Regions from separate parts of the Homo sapiens genome. Here regions 1 and 3 are each linked to region 2. Evidence: promoter capture Hi-C in 16 types of primary human blood cells and fetal thymus (Javierre and others, 2016). All regions are on one chromosome and are shown on one strand. The core of a region is centred on a gene start or on the middle of the fragment in contact, and the rest is flanking DNA. Distances in the headings are between cores, read along the strand shown. Region 1 overlaps RTL9 (retrotransposon Gag like 9). Region 2 holds the start of KCNE5 (potassium voltage-gated channel subfamily E regulatory subunit 5). Region 3 overlaps TMEM164 (transmembrane protein 164).

Region 1 (3,444 bases), core at 72-2,571, 780 kb after region 2:
TTGTGTGTATGGTGAGCAGAGTCAGCTCTGGGCAAAATGGTGAAATAAGCCAAGTTTGTCTTTAGTGTCTTCAGACTCCCAGTGTGTCTCGGGGACTCAGTACTACAGTGCCACCTACATGCTGCAACACCTACTATGGCTCCTACAGGCAGCCCATCCTGCTGAGAGCTTCTCCTTCCTAACTCCTCTAAGACCTTGACCTCTGGTTTGTGTTTTCTGAAGGTAAACTGCCTTAACCTAACCTTTTCCAGAGCACATATTATATTTATTGGTGCCTTCCCAGAAAGCAATCTTTAGCTTAGGAGCAGGTAGCTCCCACGGGAGGCATGTAGGTGTTTCTGTGTTGTGGTAAGGGGAAGGGGTTGTCTGGGGGCCTCTATCAAGATACACCATGGAGGCTTCTCCTACAACCAAAGGGTGTTTGGCCCCTTTCTCAGATGGCTGAGGGCCCTGGAGTCAGATCAATAAGCATTTGAATCTTGGCTCTGCCATTCACTGATTGCATGATTTCCCACAGTTAATCTCAGTGAGCCTTCGTTTCCTCCCCTGTAAAATGGATCTAATAATAGTTCTCATCTCCTAGACGTGTTGTGAGGATGACATGAGATAACACACTTACGGTGTCCAGTACAAAATAAGCATGTAAAAATGTTAACTGTTCCCTTAAATCAATTTTTAGTAGTCTTCTGCCTCACCCCCATAACCATCCAGGTCTCTCTTCGCTTCCTTGTTTCTCTTTTCCTCTTCTCACCAACAAGTCTCTTTCTTCAAAGTCTCCCTTTCCTTTCCCAACTCCCTCCCACCAGTACGCTCAACCTTTGGCAACCCTCTGTCCCACACTTTCCAGGTCAATCCCAATTTCAGATAATCTCTCTTGATATCAAACTGCATGACCTGATTTGAATCGGAAAACAGAGTGAAACAGAGTCCCTTGCTCTGAGGAATGTTGCTATGGTCTATCTTAGATCAAGAAGACAAGAGCTGCCTTGGCAGCCCTACATCATAATCTGATGAGCATGAAGAAGGCTCACCTTGCCTATAAATATTTGTTTTTTGCCTATGAGTGATGCCAGAAACCGTCATGGTCGGCATACAATTCCTTTGAGTCAAATTGCAAGGTTTGTCTGTCAGGGTTGCCTTGGTAAGGCAGGGTTATTATTTATATCTGAGTGCAAATTCCTTGATCAGAGCCTTTCCTGTCAGGGAGAGGAGACGGAAGGGTTCCAGGGAGCCTACTCCCCACGGAAGAGGAAGGCTGTGCTAGCATGGATGGGGTATGTGAGTGTGGGAGCTCAGCTGACTGAGAGCTGTGTCCCCGGCTCCATTTTGCCTAGGGGCGAGCCCTGTGTGTTGCAACAGATGTGTGCTTTGGAATCACCAAGGTTGGGAAGCCAGGCCTCAGAGGGAGTGGCTGGAGGCTGATCTCATCCTGAAATGATGTGGGCTTGGATTCCCAGAGGGTGGAGAGGAGGACCAGTCCAGAGAGAAGGACATGCTTTTGGAGGGAGGTCTAAAGACAAAAAGAGGGCTTTAGTTATTTTTTGAGCTTAGGTGTAGGTGATGGTTGGGGGTAAGTGACAAAAGAAAATAGGTCCTGAAAGGGGGGTGTCTCCTTTCATGATTAGGAACAGAAGAATGAACTCAAGGACTGCCCCCTTTTCTTCAGGAAGCAAACAACTTCTGAGGGTGTGACAGGGTTCACTGGGTGTTCCCCTTTAAGGGAGGTTAGCCCCTACGTGAAGCTGCTTGGCTGGTAGAGGATAATTGGGTGTTCCCCAATCCAGATAAGCAGAAGCTCAGGTGCCCCTCCCTGTAGGCTTTTCAGCTTTCTTTATCACTTGCTAGGCAGGCCCTGCCATCCTTGGGAGTAGGTATGAGAGAGGGAGTTGAGAGGCCAGGCTTTCCCTGCCCCTGTTCTTCACAGAACACAGCTGAAAAAGGAAGGCCAGAGATGTGACACCCCCCAGCCCCAGGGATTCTACCACACATTGCAAACCTCACAGAGGATGCTTATTCTACAAAATTTGTGGGCATATTCATAGGTACTATGGAGCTAAATAATTTGAAAACAATAACAAAACCCATTTACTGATTATTTGGTTAATAAAGACCTCATTCCTTCAAAGTATGTTGCTAGGAGCCACTGAAAGTGGACTTGACCTGAGGAGCAGCAAGGAGCTTCCTCCTGCTGTATACACAGACACACACAGACAGACAGACAGACACACACACACGCATGCGCGCACACACATGCACATGCCCGGATCCTTCTCCAAACACGTCCATGATACCAGGGCAGCAGAATTGGGGCACATTAGAGACACAGGCTCTGCCCACATTCTGAAGCTCCCTGTCATTCCCAGGTCTTGGTGCTTGGCCAGACTCCCCTTACCCAGACTCATAGCCTCATAGCTATCATTCCAAAACCCCAAAAGCTCTGGAAACTGAGAGCCTTTGTACGTTTATGACAAACTCATTTGGCAGCGCAACTTGAACTGACATGAGGTTATTTATAGTCTTTATTTTTCACACCCTGTGTGAATATTCATGTGTTTTTGCTCCAGAAATATCAATGTACTTGATTACTGGGTACTGCCTCAGACCCCACTGGAGGTGATATATATGTGCTGTATACACCCAATCGCCTTTTAAAAGTCCAAAGCATTCTGAATTCCTTCAATTATACTAAGCCTCCCACTGTCTTATAATGATCTGTTTGGCATGTCTCCCTCATTAGCCTGTGAACTTCTTCTCCAGTGCTCAGCACACAGTCCAGCATGGGGTGGAAGCTCGACTAATGTTTTAGGAATGAAGAACGAACAGTCTTTAGTGATTCCGGAGACTTGTTGTCATGTTCTTTCTTACATCTAAACTAAAGTACGTCATGCTACCATTCGTTTATTCTGTGCCATCAATAGCGAGGAAGAACAGTTGGTCAGGCTCCTTCATTTTTTTTCCTCTTGAGGCTAAATCGTCCTTATAATCCTAATACCTTTAACCTTTTCCCCTAGATCCTCTTTTCCAATCCCTTAATCGTCTTCATTGCTGTCTTCTGAAGTCTTTACAGGTTCTTTCCTTCCGAAATTGTGGCCTAGTGCTTAGGATAGGGCTGCAAAGAGCCCAGCTATTACACATAATAGGCCTCTGGTTTCTATGGTGCTTTTCCGATCAGTTTCATTTGGCTGGGCTAAGAAGCTTTGCCTTTAAAAATACACTCGCAGGACAAACTCCAGGGGCATGAACAACTTTCACCTGAGCATGCTGGTTGGTAATAGGAAGGGAAAATAGCACTGTCTGATCATAAGAAACTGTAATTACGAAAGCTGAAAGCAACAGGTAACACATGCAGTAGGCACCTGTATACAAAAACCACTGTTGATAATTACGGTACCTCAGCCTATTATTTTTACCTTGGGAGAACCGGCCTTGTTTGTGCGCATCATG
Region 2 (3,293 bases), core at 532-3,031:
TTTTAAAGTGCATCCTGAAAGACTGCATTGTGATCTTTGAAAGTGCTTCAGAAATAAGAAAAAAGGAGGGATAAGTAATAAAGTAGGTATAACTTTTGAAACACTTGAAAAAACAACCCATTTAGCCATATAAACATTTTCTTCACCCATAATCACACATATCAAATTGGAACTGGTTACATAGATATAAATATCACAACCACCCAACCCCCAAATCCAAACATCATTTCCAAAAGCAAAAGAAAAAGGATTCCTTCTCCATATGGTACTGGGTCTTAAGGCTGGAATCTCTGAGAGAAGAGTCTTGCGTTATTGTTTAAACAACCTTTATTACCTGCCTCTGACATTCCCCAGGGTTACAGAGCAGGGGGCATCTGAGCCTCAAGTTCCACGGATGAAGCAGACACTGCAATAACAACTGAATCAATAGAGGAGAGGCATTTGGAAGTACTGGGGTGATACACCCAGTAATGGTAATCCTCAGCAGAAGATGGCATAGCTACCAAAAATCAGGCGTTACCACTGGGATGAAAACTGGGGAGGCAAGAAAATCATACGGTTGGAGTCATAGATCATTTCCCTCCCCGTTGAGCACTCCTCCCCCTTCCGTCCCCCATTAAGTTCATTCTATCCCACAGACTGGTCCTAGTGTCCTGCTAGCTCCCTGCTGAAAGAGAGAGGGAGGGAAAAGATGTCTGAGGTCTCTTCATTTCCTTTGTCTCTGTCCCTAAGGCAACTGGAAGCTGGAGCTGCTGCAGTCGGCCTGGCAAGCCCGTTGGCTCTGCAGAGTGAGCAGTCCCTGGCAGCCCCTGGAGCAGCTGCCAGTTAGACGGCCCAGAGTTCTGATAGAATGCATTGCTTCAGTTCAGTGCCAAGTGTTGGACGTGTTGGATTCAGTTCCCAGAGGGCTGGAGCGTGCTGTCAGGGCTGTCTGAAGACAAGAGAGCAGAGGCAGTTTAGTGCAGTTGGATGTGCGGGGTAGGGGTGGAGGCGCAGGGGTGAAGAGGGAGAAACTGGCCCGAATGGGTAAGGTGGTGCTTCTCCTTCCAGGGCCTTCCAGACAAGGTCTCCTGGCCTCTCACCATTATCTGGGCCTCAGATGAGGCGAACCCTGGAAGGGAGTTGGGGGTGGAAGGTGGGAGGCGCGCCCAGGGATGAGCGAGATGAGGAGGGCGCGAACCAGCAATCTGGGGCTGTGGTTTTAGACCCGCTCAGCGCCCTGGGCGAGGGCAGGCAGCCCCTCGGAGGCAAGCTGGCGGCGGCCCTCGGCCTGGGAGCCCGCGGCAGCCTCGGCGTCGGCGGTCAGGGCGCCTCCCGGGGCCCATTCGTGCTCGGCGCAAGCCTGGGACGGCTCGTCCTTGGCCTCGACGAGCTTACGGGAGCGGGTGTAGGCCAGGATGAGGCCTCCGGCCAAGCAGGCGTAGAAGATCATGATGAGCAGGATGTAGAGATAGGCGTCGTCGCCCTTGGCGCTGGTCACCTCGCGGCCCACGAAAGGGTCAGGCACGACCCCCATGCCCATGCTGGGACGAGGGCCAGCGCCCAAGCCGCTGGCATTACCCCGGTGGTGCAGCTCGAGCAACAGGCGGCTCAGAAGGGTTCGCAGCCGCTGGCTCTCGCTGCAGTTCATGGCTTTCGGGGAGTGACACGGCGGCTCCAGGACGCTGCTGACCTTTCCCCCTGGGCGAGGGGAAGCGAGCTAGCGAGCGGGCCGGCCGGCGGGCAGGGCTCAGCAGCGGAAACAGCGGTAGCACCCAGCTCTCCGGCGAGCGCGCAGTGGCTGGGGGCGCCGACGGCGGGGCCTCCTTATTCCCTCACTCCCGCCCCTCCTCCCCTTCCCCACCACGCCCCCTCCGGCCCGCGGCCGCCTCTTCCCAGGCTCTGGCTGTCTCGCTGCTCCAGGGAAAGGGGACAGCTGGTGGGGGGAGGAGAAGGGGACAAGAGTGGGGGCGAGGCTGGGAGACGGGCGGAGGGGGCGGGGGCTCGGAATGCGCGAGGCCCCAGGCAGCAGACGCTGGCAGGGCAGCTTGCTGGGGCCAAGCCTGGACCCTGGGCTGCGGAAGAGAATTCCTTCCAAGTTCTGGCCACCTGCCCTGCAGGCCAGGCTTTGGCCCAGATACAGCATTTGGCCCCCTAAGGCAGCTCTGCCTTGGGGCGCTCAAGGGAGAGGGCAGACGCCTTTCCGCAGCAGAGACCCCTTGTCCACATTTTATGGAAGTTACTCCCATATACAGGGACCCAGGCCTATCTTTCTAGTCCTCATTCCTTTCCTTTTCCCCCCGCCCCCCTTTTCACCCCCCTCCCACCTTGTCGGAGGAGAGCATCTTATTCAGAAGATGCTCAGGCTGAATTTGGTGACTGAGTGCTCAGGCACCTGCTAGAAGGCCAAGGCAGAGTAGAACTCCCTGGTTATCCAAAATGGTTTCTGGTGATATAAGTGATATTACACCTTCTTGGAAGCACCCCTGCTCTGATGTCCTATGACACTTTTTGAAAAGTCAACACATCTTAGCACATGAATGTACTATTCATAATGGGAGCCTGTTTCCCATGGGTAAGTAAGCCATCTTCCCAGAAGTGAAACCAAGTTCTTCCAATAAGAGTAGCATGCACATTTTAAAAGGCCCTTTGACTACACTCTGTGGATATCTCGGGATCTGAAAAGTGCCAGTTCTAGAGAATATGCTCACCCTACTCCCAGTTAGGCCAGCAAACAGCTGTGTGCCTCTCTAGACTTGGTAACAGGTCTAGGCCCTAATGGCTTTTAGGGCAGCCATTTTTTTCTCAAAGGCTGTCTTTTTTTAGGGGAAAACAAGGCACCAAGACAAAGATCAGGCCAGATATGTTAAATTGGAAACAGACTGAGCTTCACAAAGGAAAAGGGTTGGTTTGTAGATGGTGGGGTAGAAAAAATGAGGTAGTGCTGGCTAGGTCTGGTTGTCCATAGTTGCCAAATGAGAGCAGAAAGCAAGAAAAGTGTATGACCTTAGGCACACCTTGAAAATAATGCTGCCTGTTCAAGACCGTTCAGTCCAGGGACCATTCAATCTATAGGTGCCATGGGTTAAAAAAGGAAGGTTTTCCGATGCCTCTTCCCCAACCGTTCTTCAGCCCACCATCCACCCAGGGGCTGTAGCCTTCTGTGTGTTCAGGTGAGGTTGGCACCAAACTGTATCCAGGGTCTCAAACAGAGCCTTGCTTCACAGCCTCTAAACAGGCCTCAGAGACATTCCACATGACCCTGACACTGGCTCCCTTCTAATCACCTTGCCTCAATATTCTCACCTCAGAGG
Region 3 (3,554 bases), core at 1,041-3,540, 530 kb after region 2:
AAACTGGTACTCAAATAGCAAGTGACAGTCCCCGGATTTGAAGCCAGTAGTATGGTTCCACGGTTCTTGCTTTTAATCATAACACAAAGTTACAACACTATATCATAATTTATTTTTTTCAGTCTGCTATTGATGGACATTTAGGTTGTTTCAAATCTTTTGATAATGTAAATAACACTGCACTGAAGGAACTGGTACCTTTGCCATTTTGCGTGTGTGCAAGAATATCTATAGGATATATTCCCAGAAGTGGTAATGCTGAATCACAGTATATGCATTTGTATTTTTGTTGGATATTTCCAAATCCATGAAAGTTGTACCAGTTTAAATGTTTACTAGCAATGTATGAGAGTGTCTGTTTCTACACAACCTCACCAAATTGGATTTTTGCCCATCTGATGGGTTAAAAAAAAAAGGTATATCAGTTCGATTTTAATTTTAATTTCACTTTGAGTGAAGCCAAGTGTCTTTTTACATATTTAAAATTGGCATTTGGCTGGGCATGGTGGCTCAAGCCTGTAATCCCAGCACTTTGGGAGACCGAGGTGGGTGGATCACCTGAGGTCATGAGTTCGAGACCAGCCTGGCCAACATGGCGAAACCCCCTCTCTACTAAAAATACAAAAATTAGCCAAGTGTGGTGGTGCGCATGCCCGTATTCCCAGGTACTCGGGAAGCTGAGGCATGAGAATCGCTTGAACCCAGGAGGTGGAGGTTGCAGTGAGCCGAGATTGTGCCACTGCACTCCAGCCTGTGCAACAGAGTGAGACTCAGTCTCAACAAAATAAAATAAAATAAAATTGGCATTTGATTTCCTCTTCCTTGAACTACATGCTCCTATCACATGCTCATTGTTCAATTGTGTTGGCCTTTTTACAAAATTTGAATCCTAAGAGCTTGTTACATATAAATATTAACAGTTTACCCTTTATGATATGAGCTACAGATATTGTCCTCAGTTGTGTTTTCTTTTGACTTTGCTAATGTTTTATTCTTGCCATGCAGGATTTTAAAATTTCTTTTTCTTCTTCTTTTTTTTTTCTTTTCTTTTCTTTTTTTTTTTTTTGTCTGAGACGTAGTCTCACTCTGTTGCCAGGCTGGAGTGCAGTGGCGTGATCTCAGCTCACTGCAGCCTCCGCCTCCCGGGTTCAAGCGATTCTCCTGCCTCAGCCTCCCAAGTAGCTGGGACTATAGGCACGTGCCACCACGCCCGGCTAATTTTTGTATTTTTAGTAGAGACGGGGTTTCACCATGTTGGCCAGGATGGTCTTGATCTCTTGACCTCGTGATCTGCCCACTTCGGCCTCCCAAAGTGCTGGGATTACAGGCATGAGTCACCCTGCCCAGCTGAATTTTTACCTTTCTATGTAATTTATCTTTTATGGCATCTGAATTTAGAGTCATGGTTAGAAAGCCCTTTACTACTCCAAGGTTATAAAAAATATATATCCCATATTTTCTTCTGGTATGTTTATAGTTCCTTTTATTATTATTTTTTACATTTAAGTCTTTTATTCACTTGGAATATATCCTGATATACAGTGCAAGATAAAGATCCAACTTTATTTCCAGCTGGCTTCCCATTTGTCCCCACACTGTTTATTAAATAGTCCAACATGATCCAATCTGCTTGTGGAGAAGATCATATTGGCTGCTGTGTGGAGAAATCACTGGGTCCTCCTGCTCTTACCTCCTAAATATCTCTCAGACTCATCCTCTCCTTACCATCTCTAGGACCAGTACCTTGGGCCAAGCCTTGCACATCTCTTCCCTCAATGATGATAATTGGCTCTGTGTGATCTCTCTCCAGCCAGCCTCCTTTGCTCCCCCTAAGCCCATTCCTGGAGCTACTTCTATAGCTCAAATAGGATCATAGCTCTTTGTCATTTGGAAGCTTTCAGTGGCCCCCCATCTTCCCCAGTGCACAAGACCGTATGACCTGATACCCAACCCCTTCTCCAACCTCATGTCTTTACACTCCCTTCTTTATACTGTACACTGTGGTGATACCCAAATCCTTGGGGTTCCCTGAGTATTTTATCCAATTTTCATGCCTCTGTGCCTTTGAAAATGCTGTGATTTCTGCCAGGAATGCTCTTCTCCAGCTGTGGGCCTAGAAACATTCATTTGTCAAAACTCATGTCAGTAGTTACTTTCTCCAAGAAGCCCTCTGTAACTATTCTACCCCAGCTCCCGCCAGCTGCCTCTGTTCCTCCCATTTTTGTCATCCTCACAGTATAGTCTTTACATGCTGGTCTCCCTGAGGACAGGAATTTTTCATTTCTTCTTGGTATGTAGGTGATGAATGAATGAATGAATGACCTTCTATTCAGGGATGTATTCCTGTACTGCAAATTGCACATAATTTATTATACATCTTACAAGCTAATGTTTACTAGGCACTGGGTTTGTTACATGTGTGATCTTGATCTCATTTAATTCCCACAGTGTCCACTAGACTTATGGGAGTACATCACGTGAGGCCCATGACCTTGAATGAGAAAAATAATCACATCTTTATGTCCATTAACTGCAACTGAAATACAGTCATCTCTCGGTATCCATGGGGAATTGGTTCTAGGACTTCCCCCACCACAAATACCAAAATCCAAGGATGCTCAAGTCCCTAATGTAAATGACGTAGTATTTGCATCTAACCTACACACATCCTCCTGTATACTTTAAAGGAAGCTTGTCTAACCTGTGGCCTAGGATGGATTTGAATGTGGCCCAACACAAATTTGTAAACTTTCTTAAAACATTATATTTGAAAAAAATTTTTTTTCAGCTCATCAGCTATCAGTAGTGTATTTTATGCGTGGCCCAAGACAATTCTCCTTCCCATGTGGCCCAGGGAAGCCAAAAAATTGGACATCCCTGCTTTAAATCATCTCTAGATTACTCATAATACCTAATACAATGTAAATGCTATATACATAGTTGTTATACTGTTTTTTATTTGTATTTTTTTTTACTATTGTTATTTTCATTTTTAAAAAATATTTTTGATCTGTGGTTGGTCAAATCCACAGATGCGGAACTTGCAGATATGGAGGGCCGACTTTGTGGTATATCCTTTAGTAAGGAATGTAGATAACAAACCACAGTTACATTAGCAGCACTTGGCATGCTGTTGTTAATGTAAATTACACTTATTTTCCTCTTATGTTAGAGTTGTTGCAGATATCTCAAAAAATCATTGGCATTCATCATTACCTCAAAATTTAAAAACAGATGTGCCTTTTAAAAGCATTTTGATAACTATAGTTCAACATGATTATTTTCTTTTATAATCCTATATATTCTATTTCGTATACTTAAATACTTTATTCTGAGAGAGAGCCTTTACACTTCCCCAGACTGCCCAAGGAGTGCATAGTACCACCAAGGTTAGGAGTCCCTTTACTAGAGTTTATTTTATTTTTATTTTTTTGAGACAGATACTCACTGTGTCACCCTGGCTGGAGTGCAGTGACCTGATCTTGGCTCACTGCAACCTCTGCTTCTCGGGTTCAATCAATTCTCGCACCTCAGCCTCCAGAATAGCTAGAAGT

What was found. Contacts are between HindIII fragments. The CHiCAGO score rates a contact against its expected background, and 5 or more counts as called.
Region 1: a contact is called between a fragment that was not itself captured here and the fragment with the promoter of KCNE5 in region 2, in 1 of 17 cell types (neutrophils). The highest score is 6.6, in neutrophils.
Region 3: a contact is called between a fragment that was not itself captured here and the fragment with the promoter of KCNE5 in region 2, in 1 of 17 cell types (neutrophils). The highest score is 5.6, in neutrophils.

What each region holds. Positions count from the first base shown.
Region 1 is chrX:110,401,234-110,404,677 of GRCh38, forward strand. The region is part of intron 1 of RTL9 (retrotransposon Gag like 9); the gene reads left to right. It also overlaps a transcript of AMMECR1 not described here. Among named protein-coding and RNA genes, the nearest start is that of RTL9, 44 kb to the left of the region's middle. The HindIII fragment of the contact is 3,744 bases long and covers 1-3,193 here.
Region 2 is chrX:109,623,391-109,626,683 of GRCh38, forward strand. It overlaps KCNE5 (potassium voltage-gated channel subfamily E regulatory subunit 5), which reads right to left and starts at 1,782. Exons shown (of 1, transcript NM_012282.4): 1 at 310-1,782. The coding sequence starts at 1,630. The coding sequence ends at 1,202. The HindIII fragment of the contact is 6,764 bases long and covers 1-3,293 here.
Region 3 is chrX:110,151,005-110,154,558 of GRCh38, forward strand. The region is part of intron 5 of TMEM164 (transmembrane protein 164); the gene reads left to right. Among named protein-coding and RNA genes, the nearest start is that of MIR3978, 71 kb to the left of the region's middle. The HindIII fragment of the contact is 797 bases long and covers 1,893-2,689 here.